Linked DNA regions of Homo sapiens: region 2 is linked to region 1. The links are contacts of gene promoters, found by promoter capture Hi-C in blood cells and fetal thymus (Javierre and others, 2016). All regions are on one chromosome and are shown on one strand. Each heading gives the region's core, a stretch centred on a gene start or on the middle of the fragment in contact. The rest is flanking DNA. Distances are from core to core; before and after follow the strand shown. Region 1 holds the start of SIK1 (salt inducible kinase 1). Region 2 holds the start of LOC124905026 (a long non-coding RNA gene).

Region 1 (7,482 bases), core at 1-2,500:
GAACTAAAAACGGTTACTATTTACCCACCACGACAATCAAGCCTGGAGCAGTGAATCTGCATGGGGTCCACCCGCCAAAGGTCGGGTCGCCCCGGGTCCAGTGGGGAGGCCCCGCCGGCTGGGTCCCACCGCCCCCACGCACCTGCGTTTTGGTGACTCGATGCCGCGCCAGCTTCACCACCGCGAAGTTGCCTTTGCCCAGGGTCCGCTCGATGTCGTAAAAACCCACCCGGAGGGGCTTCTGCTGGCCCTGACCCTGGCCCGCGGGGTCCGCGCTGAACTCCGACATGATAACCATGGCTCCGCGCGCACCTGCGGGGCCGCACAGAGCTCAGAGCCCACCAGCGCCCCCGCCGCCCGCGGTCGGCTCCATCCGTGCCCGCGGAGCCCCCAGTCCCCACGGGACGCAGGGACCTGCTCCCACGCCTGTCGCCCCCACTCTATCCACGGGCCCCTCCAGCCCCGTGGGAGGTGTGGACCCGCCCCCGCCGCCCGCTCCACCCGGACCCCCGACCCTCTTGAGCCCCGCGGGGCGCACGGACCCGCTCTCATAGAGGCCCCTGCCGCCCGAGTCCGGTTCCGTCCCGATCCCGGGACCCCCTGAGCCGGGATTCCACACTCGCCTCCCGCCGCCCGCTGTCGGTTCCGTCCCCACCCTCGACCCCTTTAGCACCTCTGGGCGCGGACCCGCTCCCACACCTGGCCCTGCCACCCGAGGTCGGCTCGATCCGGATCCCAGGACCGTCCCCTGCCCCGCTCCCACACCCTGCCCCCGCCGCCCGCGATCCGTCCGGTCCCCACCCCCGACATCCCAGGCACCTCGGGGATCGCGGACCCGCCCCCCACACCCGGTATCTCCGCCCGCGGTCGGCTCCAACCTGACCCCCGGCTCCCCAGCCCCTGAGCCCCGCGGACTCACTCCTACCCCGGCCCCCCAACAAAGGGGAGCCCGAGGGCGGCCAGGCCGCCAACCCCGCCCGCGAACCCCGCGCGCGCAAGGCCAGGGACCCTGCGCGGTGGCTGCAACCCCGAGCCCCGGCCCGGCGCCCGCGCGGAGCCCCCACGGCGGCCACCTCCGCCCGCCCGGAGCCCGCCGCTGCCGCCGCTGCCGCCGCTGCCGCCGCCTCACCTCCGCCGCCACCGGAGCGCCCAGGCCAGGAAGCCGCCCGCTCGGCCGCTGGCGCTGCTCGGGTGCCTACTGCTCCGGCTGCCGCCGCCGCTGCTGCTGCCTCCGGGGCCGCGCCGCATGTCAGCCCGGAGCCGCCGCGCTCCGCCGCACGCGGCGCCCGGCCCCGCCCCGGCCCGCCCCGGCCCGCCCCCCGTAGTCCCCGCCCCCTGCCCCGCCCCCGCCGCCCGGGCGGGGGCCGCCCATTGACGTCGCTTTGACGCCAGAGCGACGCGCGGCCGAGCGCCGGGCGGAGGGAGAGCGGGAGATCGGGCGGTTGCCAAGAGACTGGCGGCTCTGACGCGCGCGGGATGAGGCCGTTGCCCTGGCGACCGCGGGCCGGTGACGTCAGGGGCGCCCGCCGCCCGAGGCCCGCCCGCCTGCGCTCCGCCGGGCGCCCCCTCCCGGGCGCTGGGGGCACTGCGGGCGGCCCCACCGCCGAGGGCGCGCCCGCCCCTCCACGCTCGGGCACTCGGGCCGGGTCCCGCGGGCGCCTTGTGCTCGCTCCCTCCAGGAGGGGACGGCTCTCGGGCAGGGGTCGCCGGCCCCTCCACGCGGCCTGCGTTCGTCCAGACTCAGAGCCTCGGGACGTGCGGGGGCCCGGGGGCCTCGCGGGCTCGCGCGTGGGGCTGGCGGCGCGGATGCCCTGGGGCGCTGCAGACCCCGAGAGGCCGCTTGCCCGCGGGGACGTCAGCCGCTTTTGCTGTTAAAATCTGAAATGTTCAGCAAGTTAGAAACTTGAAACCTAAGGAAGCGTGACCGGCCGCTCTGGAAGCCCCCGCCGCGCGGCCGGTCCCGGCCCCGGCCCTCAGCGGCGCTGGCGTCTGCGCGTCCCGGGGCTGCCCCCGCAGCATGTGGGGCTGGGACCCTCTTCCCGCGCGGGCCCCGGGCGGACGCTGCGGGCGGTGACGGAGCCAGGCCGGCCGCCTGGGTAGGGGACGGGGGCGCGGGACCACTTGCTTGCCCGTGGCCGATGCCTCATCCGAACGGAAAACGTTTTCTTCAGGGGAGACAGAGGCTGTGGGCGAAGGTATTTTTTAAGCCTGAGGACCCATTTGGGAGTTAGATTCTGGATCGAGCCTAGGGTCAGTTTTCCTTGTGTTAAATAACACTACTTCACAGAAGGGGGAACGAGAATTCAGGGGAGTTGGCACAAAACTTGGAACCCTTCTCGGGAGGCTTTCCTGCCTGGACGGACGCCTGGGAGGAGGGCCCGGAGAAACGAGGATGAGCTTCTCCTCATTCGCCCGAGGGTCTGACCACAGATTTCCCAATCGCCACACACACACACACACACACACACACACACACACACACACGGGTTGTTTGGGAGTCAGTTGGTTTTCAAAGGCTTTCAAGGAAATGAAGAGTCCCAAAGTTTTCCTTAATCGTTCAGAGTGTTTTTCTTTGTCCCAGGTTTATATACCAAGAATACGGGGGAATATTTTTAGTTCCTTTCAGCTGAACAGTGTACAACTGCCTTTTTTCCTTTTGGAGGTCCCAACACCCTGTTAATCCGCTCCTAGGAGAACTAAACAAAAACAAGGCTGGACGTCGTGTCTCCCGCCTGTAATCCCAGTGCTTTGGGAGGCTGAGGCAGGAGGATCAGTTGAGCTCAGGAGTTTGAGACCGGCTTGGTTAACATAGCAAGACCTCACCTCTATAAAATACTTTTAAAATAGCCAGGTGTGGTGGCACACGCCTGTGGGGCCGGCTACTTGGGAGCCTGAGGTGGGAGGATGGCGTGAGCCTGGGAGGTTGAGGCTGCAGTGAGCTGTCATTGCACCACTGCACTCCAGCCTGAGCAAGAGAACAAGGCCCTGTCTCAAAAAAGAACAAAGATAAAAGGCGGGGTGGGGGAGAAACCAGGCCCCTGATCACACTCACCATTCAGTCCCTCAGCCTGTGACTTGAAATACTGCCCCCCGCATCCAGGAAGCAGGCTTCCCCACCCCTCCCACCCTAGCCAGAGTCTTCCAAAAGGTCTTAGGTATTTGCAAACACCTGGCTGGCTGTTTGGAAACATTGCATCAGCACCAAATAAAAACTGCAGCCAAAACTGCCTCCGCAGAACAGGTCCCCAAACTCAGGTGCACTTGACCTTTCACCCTGACCCAGCCCTGAGCTTCCAAAACCCAGAACAGCCCTGTGCCAACCATGGCCATCCTGTTTTCCCTTCCCTGGGCCCGTGGGCAAGGAGCTCGCTCTGCAGAGAAAGGCAGGAAGCACAGAGGAAAAGGCCAAGCTTGGAACGGCTGTCCCGTCTCCCCACTGGGGGAACCCCTGGCACCCTCATAACTAAGTCTGTGCTTCAACCTGGTCTCTGTTACCCAATGTCTTTTGTTGTTGTTTGTGTCCTTGACCCCCCGAGGCTGTATTTCCTCTCAGAAGCTTTGATTTCTTTTCTGTTTTCTGGTCTTCCGTGCCTTTAACACGAGGAAAAATAAAACACATGGTGTGAGTGTAAGGATGGTACAAGCAAATGATTGGAGAAGCTCCTCACTGAACATAATGGAAGGAATGCTCCCAAAGTCTGCAGGAACGGTACTTTATTATTATGGTTTGCATATTATTACAGATTTGTGGAAAACGGCAAGTCAGTTTTCCTTTCCACATGGACTTTCTTCAGCTTGTCTTATGATTGCCGTGTTTCTGGAGTTCATCTTGTTTTTTAGGCCTTAAGACTGGAAACCCCAACAGGAAATGGGTCCATTTATTATTCATAGTTGTAACGCTGGCCACTGGCATGTCACAAAACTCTCAAAATCAATTGATAAACACAGAGAATGGAGCGTGGGGCAGCATTTTTGCAAAGGGATGGGTGCCCAGCTGGCCCCAGTGCCGCCCTCTGTGAGGAAGGAATCTCCCAGTGCAGCCAGGAGTCAGACGAGTTCCTCTTCCCGACCCTACCCTCCCATCTTCGACGCCTAAGGCCCTTCCCTGTCTTCCTGGCTTTGCTTCAGGTGGTTTTGTACTTTTTAAATTTTGTTTTGGTTTGTTTAGGCTTCAGCCTAGCGGCTTTAGGTGCCAGAAAATCAGATTAACCACTGCAGCGGCATCCTTCTCAGGGACCCGGGGGCCACGTTGGTCATTTTGCCCCATTGTATCTGGAGAGCTTGACAGACAGACATGTGTGCACTAGGTCAGGAAGCCACGGCCCTGGCCTGGGAAGAGGGCAGGTAGGAGAAAAGCCCCCAGCCCCCTCCACCCTCAGGGAATGGCCCAGTTGTCCACAGGTTAAGTCAAGAATCCCCCGCGAACAGGTCAAACCAGAGACTGCCCAGTCCCAGCGTCCGCCCCCAGGGCATTGCTTCCTTCACCTCCTACACTTGGCTCCCTGTGGTTCCGTGGCTGCCACAGTTGTGTGGATCCTACCGGGCCCAGGGCCCCTCCCCATCTCAGACAGCACCCACTTTCAGGCTAGGCCTTCCACGGGCTGCTTAAATGGACCACGAAGGCCGGCAAAGCAGCAGAAACGTGCCTGTTCACGGGCCAGTCGGCCCTCCCCGCTCCAGCCCTCTAGGGTTTCTGGTTCCGGTTTCTGTCGCTGCCGTTAGTGAGGAATTATTCATGTGGCCAATGCGTTTTCTTGACATTTAAGCAGGGCTGTGGCCGATATCAAGGCTGAGGACCCAAGAGGCCTTTGGGTGTCTGTGTCCCTGAGCCATATGCTGAGGTCGGACGGCGGGGGAGGGGGGTGCAGGAAGGGGCCAGCCCCAGCGAGAGTCAGCCAGGCCCCAAACAGAGCCAGGGGTTCCCCCGGGGGGGAGTGCTCACTTAGGAAGAGCACCATGGACAGCCTGGCAGGAGGTCACCCTGTGCTGAGCAGGCAGCGCTGGAGTAAACCACCTGCCTCTCTGTAGGAAGAAGGAAACCGCATCCGCAAACGGAGCAAAGGTCCCCAGAGGCAGAGCAGAAGCCTCTGGGATGCTGCAGCTTTGTGCAGACACTGGGGACCAGGACTGGAGCAGGTGCTGGCCGTGCTCTTTATCCTGGGCACTCTGCCAGGGCCACACGGAGCGTGGCTCCCGGGAGATGGAGACGTCTGAGTGTCAGCTCAGGTCTCGGTGTTTCCAGGTGACATGCTGGCTGCTAGTGTAGAGCATGGTAAACCATCTTTTTTTTTTTTGGTTACTATTTACTTATGCAAAATAATGTGAGTTTCTGCCATTTGCAACAAGTGTGCCAGCTGCAATGAGTCAGCGGGTGGACACAGGTGAGCATGGCCAGACTGTGCCAGAACATGGTGACAGACAGACATGCTTCGAAGTTCACTGTGGGAAGGGACAGGTCCCCAGAGAGAGGTGAGACGGTGCAACGCGAGGGTGAGTTCGGAGTCATCCTCCAGATGTCCACAAAGGCTCGAGAGGCCCTGCTGTGTGTCAGGCACTGCGTGAAGGTTGTGGGCACAGTAGGAGGGACACAAGACACCTTCTCTCGAGGACCGTTGGTTCCAGTTGCGGAGACAGTAACAGCATAAGATGATGAGTAAGAAAAGAATGCTGGCAGGAAAGTGGCCATGGAGGGAACTGCTTCCGGGCCTCTCCGTGGGATTTGCCAGGCGTGGACTGAGCGAGGACCTTCCCTGAGAACACCAACTGCTCCAGGAGAGAGAAGAGGTGGAGCCCCGGCGGGGGGCATGGGGCAGGAGGCAGCCACCCACACCTTCCCTCTCTGAATGCTGAGCAGAGGCTCTCAGCAGAGGGGAAGAAGAGCAGAGGCCACGATTGGGAAGACAGACCCAGTGGGGGTCCTTGGCGCCGTCCACATCCATCTGCAACCTGCTGCCCAGCGCCTGCCTGCCCGGGGTGTGCACAGAGCAGTGTGGTCTGTCCCGGCTTCACGGCCTGACACGGCCAGGCGAGGATGACAGGGAAAGGGAGGCAGGGACTTGGGGCTGTTGGAGCCAAGCTGAGGAGCAAGGAGCTGCGATGGGAAGCGGGTGGCAGGAAGGAGCGTGAGGCCTGTGGGTGGAAGGTCTCTGGCCTTGGAGATTGAAGCGTTTCACTTGTGCATCTCACAGCCCAGAGAAGCCAAGCCCGGACCATGGGGGAGAGAGGAGGACCCCCGTCTCAGGGCGGGCTGAGGAGACGCTCTCTCCACGGCTTCCGGATGGGTCTCCCTCCATCTCAGCTGCATCTATGGGAAAACGATGAAATGCTCCCTCCACTGCCGGGCCTTCTCTTATAAAGCAGGTTTCTTCGAAGTATAAAAATTAATAGAAAAGGTTCCATAGAAAATCAAGAAAGTAAGTATGTAAAGATGAAAACAAAAAGCACCGGAAATGCTCTTCATAGCTGACGTTTTCTTATTCACTTTTTATTAAAACAGGATGAGGCGTCCTGCCTTTTCCAGCCTTATCTAGGAAGTGTCTTGCCAGGTCACCAAATGGCAAGCAGAACCGTAAGCTGAAGTTGTCTGCCTAGAATTCCACTGTGGCAATGTTCAGCATCCCGACTGGACAGCTCCGTGCGGCGGCATCGGGGGCGCGGCGGCATCGGGGGCGCGGCAGCATCGGGGGCCCTTTTCATGCCATTCAAGGCCCCGTGGAAACAGACACCACAGCTCAGCATGAGACTGTGGCCCCACCTGACCTGGCTCATCCATCCCCAGCCTCTCGTGGTCCCCGGCCCTATGCCGACATTTGGCACTCGATGAGCCATTTCTCCACATTTCAGGAGCCTTGTTTTAAGACAGCCTGGCTGTCTGAGAGCCACCGGAGTCGAGACTGGATGCCCGGCCTGGTGCCCGTGGGCCAGCACCGCCTGAGGAGGAGGGGTCTCTGGAGGCCACAGGCAGAGCCACTGAGAGGGATCTTTAAGCAGAGGGCCCCACACACCTCCTGGGACCCACGGGTGTGGCTGCCATGCAGGGTCTGGGAGCTACAGAGAGTCGGGAACCAAGGGCGCGGTGGCTCACACCTGTAATCCCAGCACTTTGGGAGGCCAAGGATCACGAGGTCAGGAGATCGAGACCATCCTGGCTCATACGGTGAAACCCCATCTCCACTAAAAATACAAAAAATTAGCCGGGCGTGGTGGCGGGCGCCTGTGGTCCTAGCTACTCGGGAGGCTGAGGCAGGAGAATGGAGTGAACCCGGGAGGCAGAGGTTGCAGTGAACCCAGATTGCCCACTGCACTCCAGCCTGGGCAACAGAGCGAGACTCCGTCTCAAAAAAAAAAAAAAAGAAAGAAAAAAAGTAAAAACAAGAGAGTAGGGAGCCAAGTCCCTGGGTTGCCAAGTCAATCCGTGGAAGCCCCTGACTTCGAGCAGGACACAGGGCCCTAAGGACAGCCCCAGCCCCTGCAGTGTGGCCT
Region 2 (7,482 bases), core at 1,260-3,759, 120 kb before region 1:
CGCCTCCTCTCCACACAGGAGACCACAGAGAGGTTTTCCGAGCCTGGCTGCGGGTGGGGCAGCCCCACCAAGTGTCTGGGGCCAGCGGCTCCCCAGTGTTCTCCTAAGCCTGTAACTTCCCTGGGGATCCCTGGGACTCGCTGTCTCAGACAGAGCCTCACCCACCTCGGAGCTGGTTCTCCTGATACCACAGGGCCCAAGGGTATCGTGGCTGCCAGGGTGGGGCAGGACCAGAAACTGAACTGGCTGTACTCAAGAATGCAAATGGCGTGAGAATAGGGAAGGGTGCCGGCCACAGTGACACTGGCAGCTGCGTCCTGCCCACACAGCTGGCATGGGAATTCCCCACCTGGAGCACACGCTGCTCATGTCTTAGTTGAGGAAGGGATAAGGGGCTAAGGAGGGGGTGTCCCTGACCAATGGGACCTGGGGTCTAACCTGACCCACAGGATGGCTGCTCTGTCCACCCCAGCCCTGTGGACATCTCTTGCCCACCCAGCCATGGCAAAAATGAGGAGCCCCCGACCATGGTGACCCTGTCTGCCAGCCCCAAATTTGGGACTCAGAGTTGGACAGGCCAGAGTGCGGAGGAACACCAGCCCCCTGGAAGCCCCCTGGAATACGAAGCCGTCACCGCTGAGATCATCCCTAAGTGCCTGCTGATCACCCCTCCCTCCTCCAGACGGAAGGAAATCCTACAAAGGAAACACACGTATCAGACTTTCTACACCTCCCAGCTAGACTCTCTTTCACCATGGGCTAACACCACAGAATGACCTTACAGGTTCTAGAAACATGGACATCCGCCCCAGGGCTTTGATTGGGGAACGGAGCCCCTGCTTTTCTAGAGTGAATTTTTTGAGCAGCTTGCAACCTCTGTCAGTAATTTGTCTCTTATTCTGGAGGGTGCCAGGCAGGAGGAGACGGTGGGCTTCCTGCTGATCCAGGCCCACCCTTTGCGGATAAGATGAGGCCTTCCCTGCTAGTGGGAGCCAGGCCTATGGGGCGGGGACAGCCTGGGCCCTCCCAGGGAGTGTAGAGGAGGAGGATGTGCTGGAAGGATGGCACCCCAGCCCGGAAGGACCCCCGCCCAGGACAGCCAGGCCTCTTGCCACAGGGGACACTTATGCCCCACACAGAAAGCACCCCGTTTCTCAGGGCTTCTCATGGGCAAAGTAACCCCAGAGACCCTGGAATGAAACTCATGCGTCTGTGAAATAAGACCAGGATTAAGCATCTGATGAGATTGTGTTGGTGGAAAAGGTCGGTAAAGAGGGTGTGAGCTTGGTGCTGCCCTGGTGAAGGAAAAACCTACCCAGAATTACTGTGGGTCACATAGGCCGGGTGAGCAAAGCCAGAGGCTTTTCCAGACCCCCTCTGGCTGGGTCTCCTTGGAGGGCGAGTGGATGGGAGGGGCAGGGAGGCCTGCAGGGATTGCCTCCAAGTGAGAAGCTTGGCCAGGCCGCAGATCCAGGCAGCTGGTGTTTTACTTTACTTATCTCTTCTCTCCTTTTTTTTTTCTGTTTAGTTTTTTCTAACACTTTTCTGTCTACTTTCAACAAGTTAAAGAACTTTTTGTTTTATTTATTTATTTATTTTCCTGTGGTAAAATATGCATAAGATAAAATTTGCCATTTCAGCCATTTTTAGGTGCACGGTTCAGTGGCATGAAGCATATCCACATTGTTGTCAGTCATCACCACCACGCATCCCCAGAACGTTCCATCCTCCCAAACTGAAACCCCATCCCCATTGAACACTCCCTCCCCATGCCCCTCCTCGGTCCCCAGCACTCACCGTTCCACCTCCGGTCTCTACGAACCAGACTCCGCCAGGGACCTCATACAGGTGGAACCACCCGGTGTCAGTCCCTGTGTACCTGGCTTATTTCACTCAGCATCATGTTCTCAAGGTCGGTCCTTGCTGTGGTGTGTGTCAGGATGTCACTCAGCATCATGTTCTCAAGGTCTGTCCATGTTGTGGCGTGTGTCAGGATGTCACTCGGCATCATGTTGTCAAGGTTGGTCCTTGCTGTGGCGTGTGTCACGATGTCCTTGCTTTCTGAGGCCAGATCCTATTTGGCATGCATAGACCATCTTTTGCCTGCTCACGCCTCTGTCCATGGGCCCTTGAGTGGCTTCCATCTGTCGGCTGCTGTGAATAAACCTGCTGTGAACATGGGTGTACAAATATCTCTTTGAATCTCTGCTTTCAATTCTTTTGGGTATATACCCAGAGAAGAAATTGCTGGATCACGTGGTAATTCGATGTTTAACTGTTTTGAGGAGCTGCCATACTTCACAAGTTTTTGAAGGTTTAGGGTTTCTTTGGGAGTTTCCGTTATATTTTTTTTAATAGTGTCACAGAACTAATTTTGATGAAAAACACTCATTCTCTATCTTCTCATTCTGGGGGAATAAATTAGTGTGATTTGAATATAATGTAATTGCATGCAAATCCAGCCACAAAACCGGGCGCTGCGCACTGGCAGAGGGTCAGGAGTTGTGCCACCTTGCTAGGGAGGAAGGAGGGTGTGTTTCCATGATATGCCAGCGGTCGGTCCTCTTAAAAGGGTGTGTATTCTCTTGCTGACTGTTTAGAATTGGCAAGATGTGGTAATAATAGTTGGTTTTACTATCATTTTTAGATTCTTTACAGGCATCACACTCCCTGATTGTCTTGTTCCCTCCTATTACACTACACACCTGCTATACCACTGATCATAGCTATAGATGCCTAGGACTGTAACTGATACAACAACAAAGCTACAAATGGCTCCAGGCCCGGATAGTTTCACAGGCCATTCCACCACACTGTTAAGGAACAGATAATATTTAAATGGATGCAAAGCATAAATAAGGAAAGAAAATTTCTAAATTCTCTTTATGAAGCTACCATAAGAATGATGCCAAAACCCAAAGAGACAAGCACAGAAAGAAAATCATAAGCCAATCTTATGAATGAACACCAACACAAAAATGTGAATTAAATTGTCTAAAAACTGTAAGCCATGACCTAGGAGACTTGAAGATGGTTTGATATTAGGAAATATCTTAAAATAGGTCTTCACATTCATAGAGCCTATAAAATTGCAGTAGTTGGGACATGGACCCCCTAGTCGGACAGCAAAGAAATTAGGCAGAGGAACCAAAAATGGATCCAAACACACCCACCTAGTTAGGACATAGGAGAGGTGATTTTTGCCTATCAGTGTGATGAATTCCAGTTGTTCAGAAGACACCAACTGAATTACAACTAAATAGTTTTCTAGAAAAAAATAAAATTGCATTTCTACTTTATTCCCTAAGGCCTCCATATGTTACAGCTACAGCAGATATTTTTATAAAGTTGGAAACCATAAACATACTAGAAGAAAACAGAGAGCCATTTCCTTTACTAGTTTTAGAAGGAGAAGATCTTCTGAAATAGAACACAAACTCAGAAGCCATAAACATGGATTAAAAGAAATAATAATAAAGTTAAAAATGTTTGCCTGGTGAAAAACACAACCACCATAAACAAAGACAGGTGAGAAATGAAATAGTATCTGCAATGCAAGGCACAGGAAAAGCTTCATTTGGTTCATACATAAAGAAGTTCTAGAAATCAATGCAATGAAGACCAACAAAGTGATAGAAAATGGGCGAAGTACAAAAACAGTTCACAAAACAGAAATGTGAAGGCTGTTAAACATATGGAAAGATACACACACTAATGGGAAAAAAGAAAGAATGCAAGTTAAAATCAGAATGTAAGACTGTTTTTAATCTATCCGACAGCCAAAGACAAAAGCATGAGAACCCTCTGTCAGTGAGGAGTAGGAGAGAGGCTCCTAACCGATTACTGGTGTGAGCAACTTGTGATGCCTTCTTTGAAATAGGTATAGAAACGTAGAGTGCACACACCCAGCAGCTCTGCAGATAGGTGCACACAAGTGCTAAATAACATATGCACAAGTCTACTGACACAGCTTTACCTGCAAGTTGTCAAAAGCTGGAAACTGCTCCAACATGCCCAGATAAGAGTCTGGAGAAATAAATCATGCTACACCCAGACAGTGGGATTCGTGTCAGGCAGCTGTTAAAAAGCGGGAGGTGGCTTTATGTGCAGCAATGCACAAATTACTGCTTAAAGCAGGAAGCCAGGTGCAGCATGCAGAACACTCCCTGGGCAGCAGCACCTCTGGAGAGGTGCGTGAGTGCCTGGGGCTGCCATAACCAAGCACCACAAACCGCCTGGCTTAAAACCTATCCTCTCACAGTGCTGGGGCCAGAAGTCCAAAGTCACAGTGGCAGCTGCACCACGCCTCCTCTGAGGCCTCCCAGGGAGAACCCGTTGCTTATTCCAGCTCCTGGTGGCTCCAGGTGGCCTCTGCCTCCATCTTCACATGACTCCTCCCTGTGTGTATCTTCTCCCCCTCTCTTCTAAGAACACTGTCATTGGATCCGGGCCCGCTCCAATTCAGGATGACCTCACCAGAAGGTCCTTAATGACATCTGCACAGATCTTTTTTCCAAATTCAGTCACATTTATAGGTTCTGGGTGGATGCATCTTTTAGGGGCTCACTATTGTCTCCCTAAAAGAAAGAAGCGGAGGCAAAATTAATCTAAGTGGAGAGTTTATTTGGGCCAAGCTTGAGGATTGCAATAGATTCCATTTGCCCTGGATCTACACTCTGATGAGCAGCAGTTCACGTGGCTTGTAAAGGAAAGTGGGGGTCAGGGAGTCGGCTGATACCAAGTTTTCTATCAGGAATTCTCATTAGTTTACAGAAATAGCATTGATGAGTGATTGGCTGTATGTTGTTAAGATATAGGGTGTGGGTTACGGTGTCCAGTGGGGCATTACTGGGTTAATCCGTAGCTACTTGTGGCAACAGGAAGCAGTTTCCAGACATGAACACACAGCTCAAAGCAGGGAGCAGGGTGTGACCACTGTCTCATTTTAAGGTCTCTCTGCGCCTGATAATTAAAAGCACTCACATTCCACAGGCAAAACTTTTTTTCTCACCATTTAAACCATTACTGCTGGAAACAGAGGTAAGGAAGAGATCATGGCCTGCCCTCTGAGATTTTATACCATGCCTGGAATGACCTATTATCAAAATAAGTAGCTGGAGCTATTCCATGGCAATGAGGAGGTCTGTGCATAAACTGTCTCCCAGTGGAGGACCGGCCACACCCACACCCTCCCATGCTAAGGACGGGCCCAGAGCCCTTGAGGGGCACCTTGACCCCCCAACACCACTCTGGAGCTGGGCTTCCTGTCTGCTTGCTGCTCTTATATCATAAGTAGAGAGATCATCTCTTTCTCTCTCTCTCTCTGTCTATATATATATATATAAATTAAATCTCTTATTTCTAACAGTGCAAAATTCTTTATTAATGCCAACATTTTTCCACTTTATGGTAACTCACTCATCTATTATTTTAGTTGGCCGCCCCACTCCATAAACACACACACACAGGCGCGCTGGCCAGGTGAGGAAACCACAGGGCAGTAGCAGGTGTGGGGACAGGCACCCAGTAGGTGGGGCAGGTGCCCTCCTCCCTCCGTAACAGGCGGGTCCAGGAACAGCTATGCTTTTCTGGCTCCCACTCAACTCCCCCACCCCCAGCATTCCCAGCAAAGGGCTTCTCCCTTCCCCATGGGGCCCCACAGATTTGCATGTGAGTGACCCAAAGCTAGGTCAGTCATAGGCAAACGGGTCTATGCAAATATTCTGTGTTAGCCAGATTGCTTCTGCGAACTCAGGGTTTTCTGGTGTAGCCATCTCCTTCCTGGGCCTTCTGTGAACTCAGGGTTTTCTGGTGTAGCCATCTCCTTCCTGGGCCTTCTGTGAACTCAGGGTTTTCTGGTGTAGCCATCTCCTTCCTGGGCCCTTTGGTCTGCTCTCCATTTGTCCTGAGAATAAACCCTGCTGCCCCACCCCCCACCCCAGTGCCCACCCCCGCCCCCAGCACCTCCTCCTGATTCACCGAAGTCAGGGTTGCACAAAATCCTTCACCTGTGAACCTGCGTCCTTAAACGTGCAGCCTGGGATGTGGAGGGGAACCTGGGGAGGTTTACACATTTTCCCAGCCAGACCCGCAGTATCAGTGGTTCTCAACCAGGGGTGGTCTAGACCCGGGGACTTCCGGTGAGGTCTGCACACAGTCTGGGTTGCCACACTTAGGAGGGGAGGGGCACCATTCAGCATTCTGCAGTGCACAGGACAGCCCCTGCCAGAAGGAATTTTCCAGCCCCAAATGTGAGCGGCATGAGCCAGGGCCTGAGTGTCGGGGCTGATGGTAAAGATATCCCCGGCAGAGAGGGTTAAATTCTTCCAGGGGAGTTCAGAGGGTCCTGTGCTTCTCTGTGAGGAGCGTGTCCCCCTTCGAGGCAACCCTCCTAGGAGACAGGCGGGGGTCCGTTCTTGTTGATCATCTCACAGAGCTGGAGAACTACAGTTATCCTGGAGGCCAGATTGGAGGCCTCTCTCCACCCAGGCCGTGGTCCGGCTCACCTGCTGCCCAGGGAGGGTGCTCACATGCACGCCCTTGGAGCCTGTTCCGCCGGGACCCTTTGCCCCACAGTGACCCCGTCTGGGTTTTCCTTGCCCTTCTCTGGACTCAGTGGTCCCAGCCCCTCTGAACTTCCCCTGTTATCTTCTTGGGACTTACCAGTTCCATTCTGAGTCCCACATTGTGGCTGGGGAGACTCGTATTGGGTGGAGCTTCAAAGCTGGTGTGACCCTGGGACAGAGGAAGGCTCTGGGGACTTTGCAGTTACGGAGACAGCCAGAAAGCCACAGTCCCTTCTCTCTACACACTGCGGTGGAAGACATGGCCCTTCCTGCCAACGTGCACCTCCCCTGGGCTCCTGCAACATCAGGGGTGGTGAAGGCACCCCCCTCCAGGAACCCTGGCCTGGTGGCCTCAGGGCACGGGGGCTTCTGGGAGCCAGAATCCGCAGACCCTGACGGCCCCAGAGTGGGGAGGCCCTGCTGGGCCCGGAGATTCTTACAGACCCCGGAGGGAACAAGAAGGCTTCTGGGGCCTCAAGTTAGGTCTTCCTTCTCCTGGTGTCTGAGGCTTCTAGAACATTCCAAAAACAAGACAGCCACAGAAGCTGGTGGTCTTGATTGGTGTGGACTTTGAGAGTGTGGCAGGATAGCAAATCCTTCTGGCTTTTGTGTCCTCCTGTAATACTCTTCTTTGTGCAATTTCTTATTGTTGGCAGGAAATCTCTTTTTCTCATGAAAAAACATTGCCTCCCCCGTGGGGTTCCGCTGTGGGGAGGCCCCTTCAGAAGGTCGGCAGGAGGAGGAGGCGAGGTGGGGCTGCCCAAGGCCACTGTTGAGGGTCCCCCACCCCTGTCCCTGGTTGGCACTGCACTGGGGTATTGGTCATACAGTGGGGGGGCACCTCCCGGATCGTGGCGGGGGCGGGAGATAGAGGCTCGTAGGGTGGCAGAGCCACAGGCACAGCACACAGAGATGC

The links. Contacts are between HindIII fragments. The CHiCAGO score rates a contact against its expected background, and 5 or more counts as called.
Region 2: a contact is called between a fragment that was not itself captured here and the fragment with the promoter of SIK1 in region 1, in 2 of 17 cell types (naive B cells and total B cells). The highest score is 7.1, in naive B cells.

Annotation. Positions count from the first base shown.
Region 1 is chr21:43,425,881-43,433,362 of GRCh38, forward strand. SIK1 (salt inducible kinase 1) reads right to left here and starts at 1,251. Exons shown (of 14, transcript NM_173354.5): 1 at 1,130-1,251; 2 at 143-312. The coding sequence starts at 298. LOC124905029 (a long non-coding RNA gene) reads left to right here and starts at 3,704. Exons shown (of 3, transcript XR_007067891.1): 1 at 3,704-7,482. RefSeq lists a silencer at 4,849-5,143. The HindIII fragment of the contact is 3,848 bases long and covers 1-3,408 here.
Region 2 is chr21:43,307,301-43,314,782 of GRCh38, forward strand. It overlaps LOC124905026 (a long non-coding RNA gene), which reads right to left and starts at 6,842. Exons shown (of 2, transcript XR_007067887.1): 1 at 6,664-6,842; 2 at 3,745-4,577. RefSeq lists enhancers at 1-902, 310-409, 1,126-1,631, 3,734-4,234, 4,235-4,735 and 1 more. The HindIII fragment of the contact is 2,119 bases long and covers 1,451-3,569 here.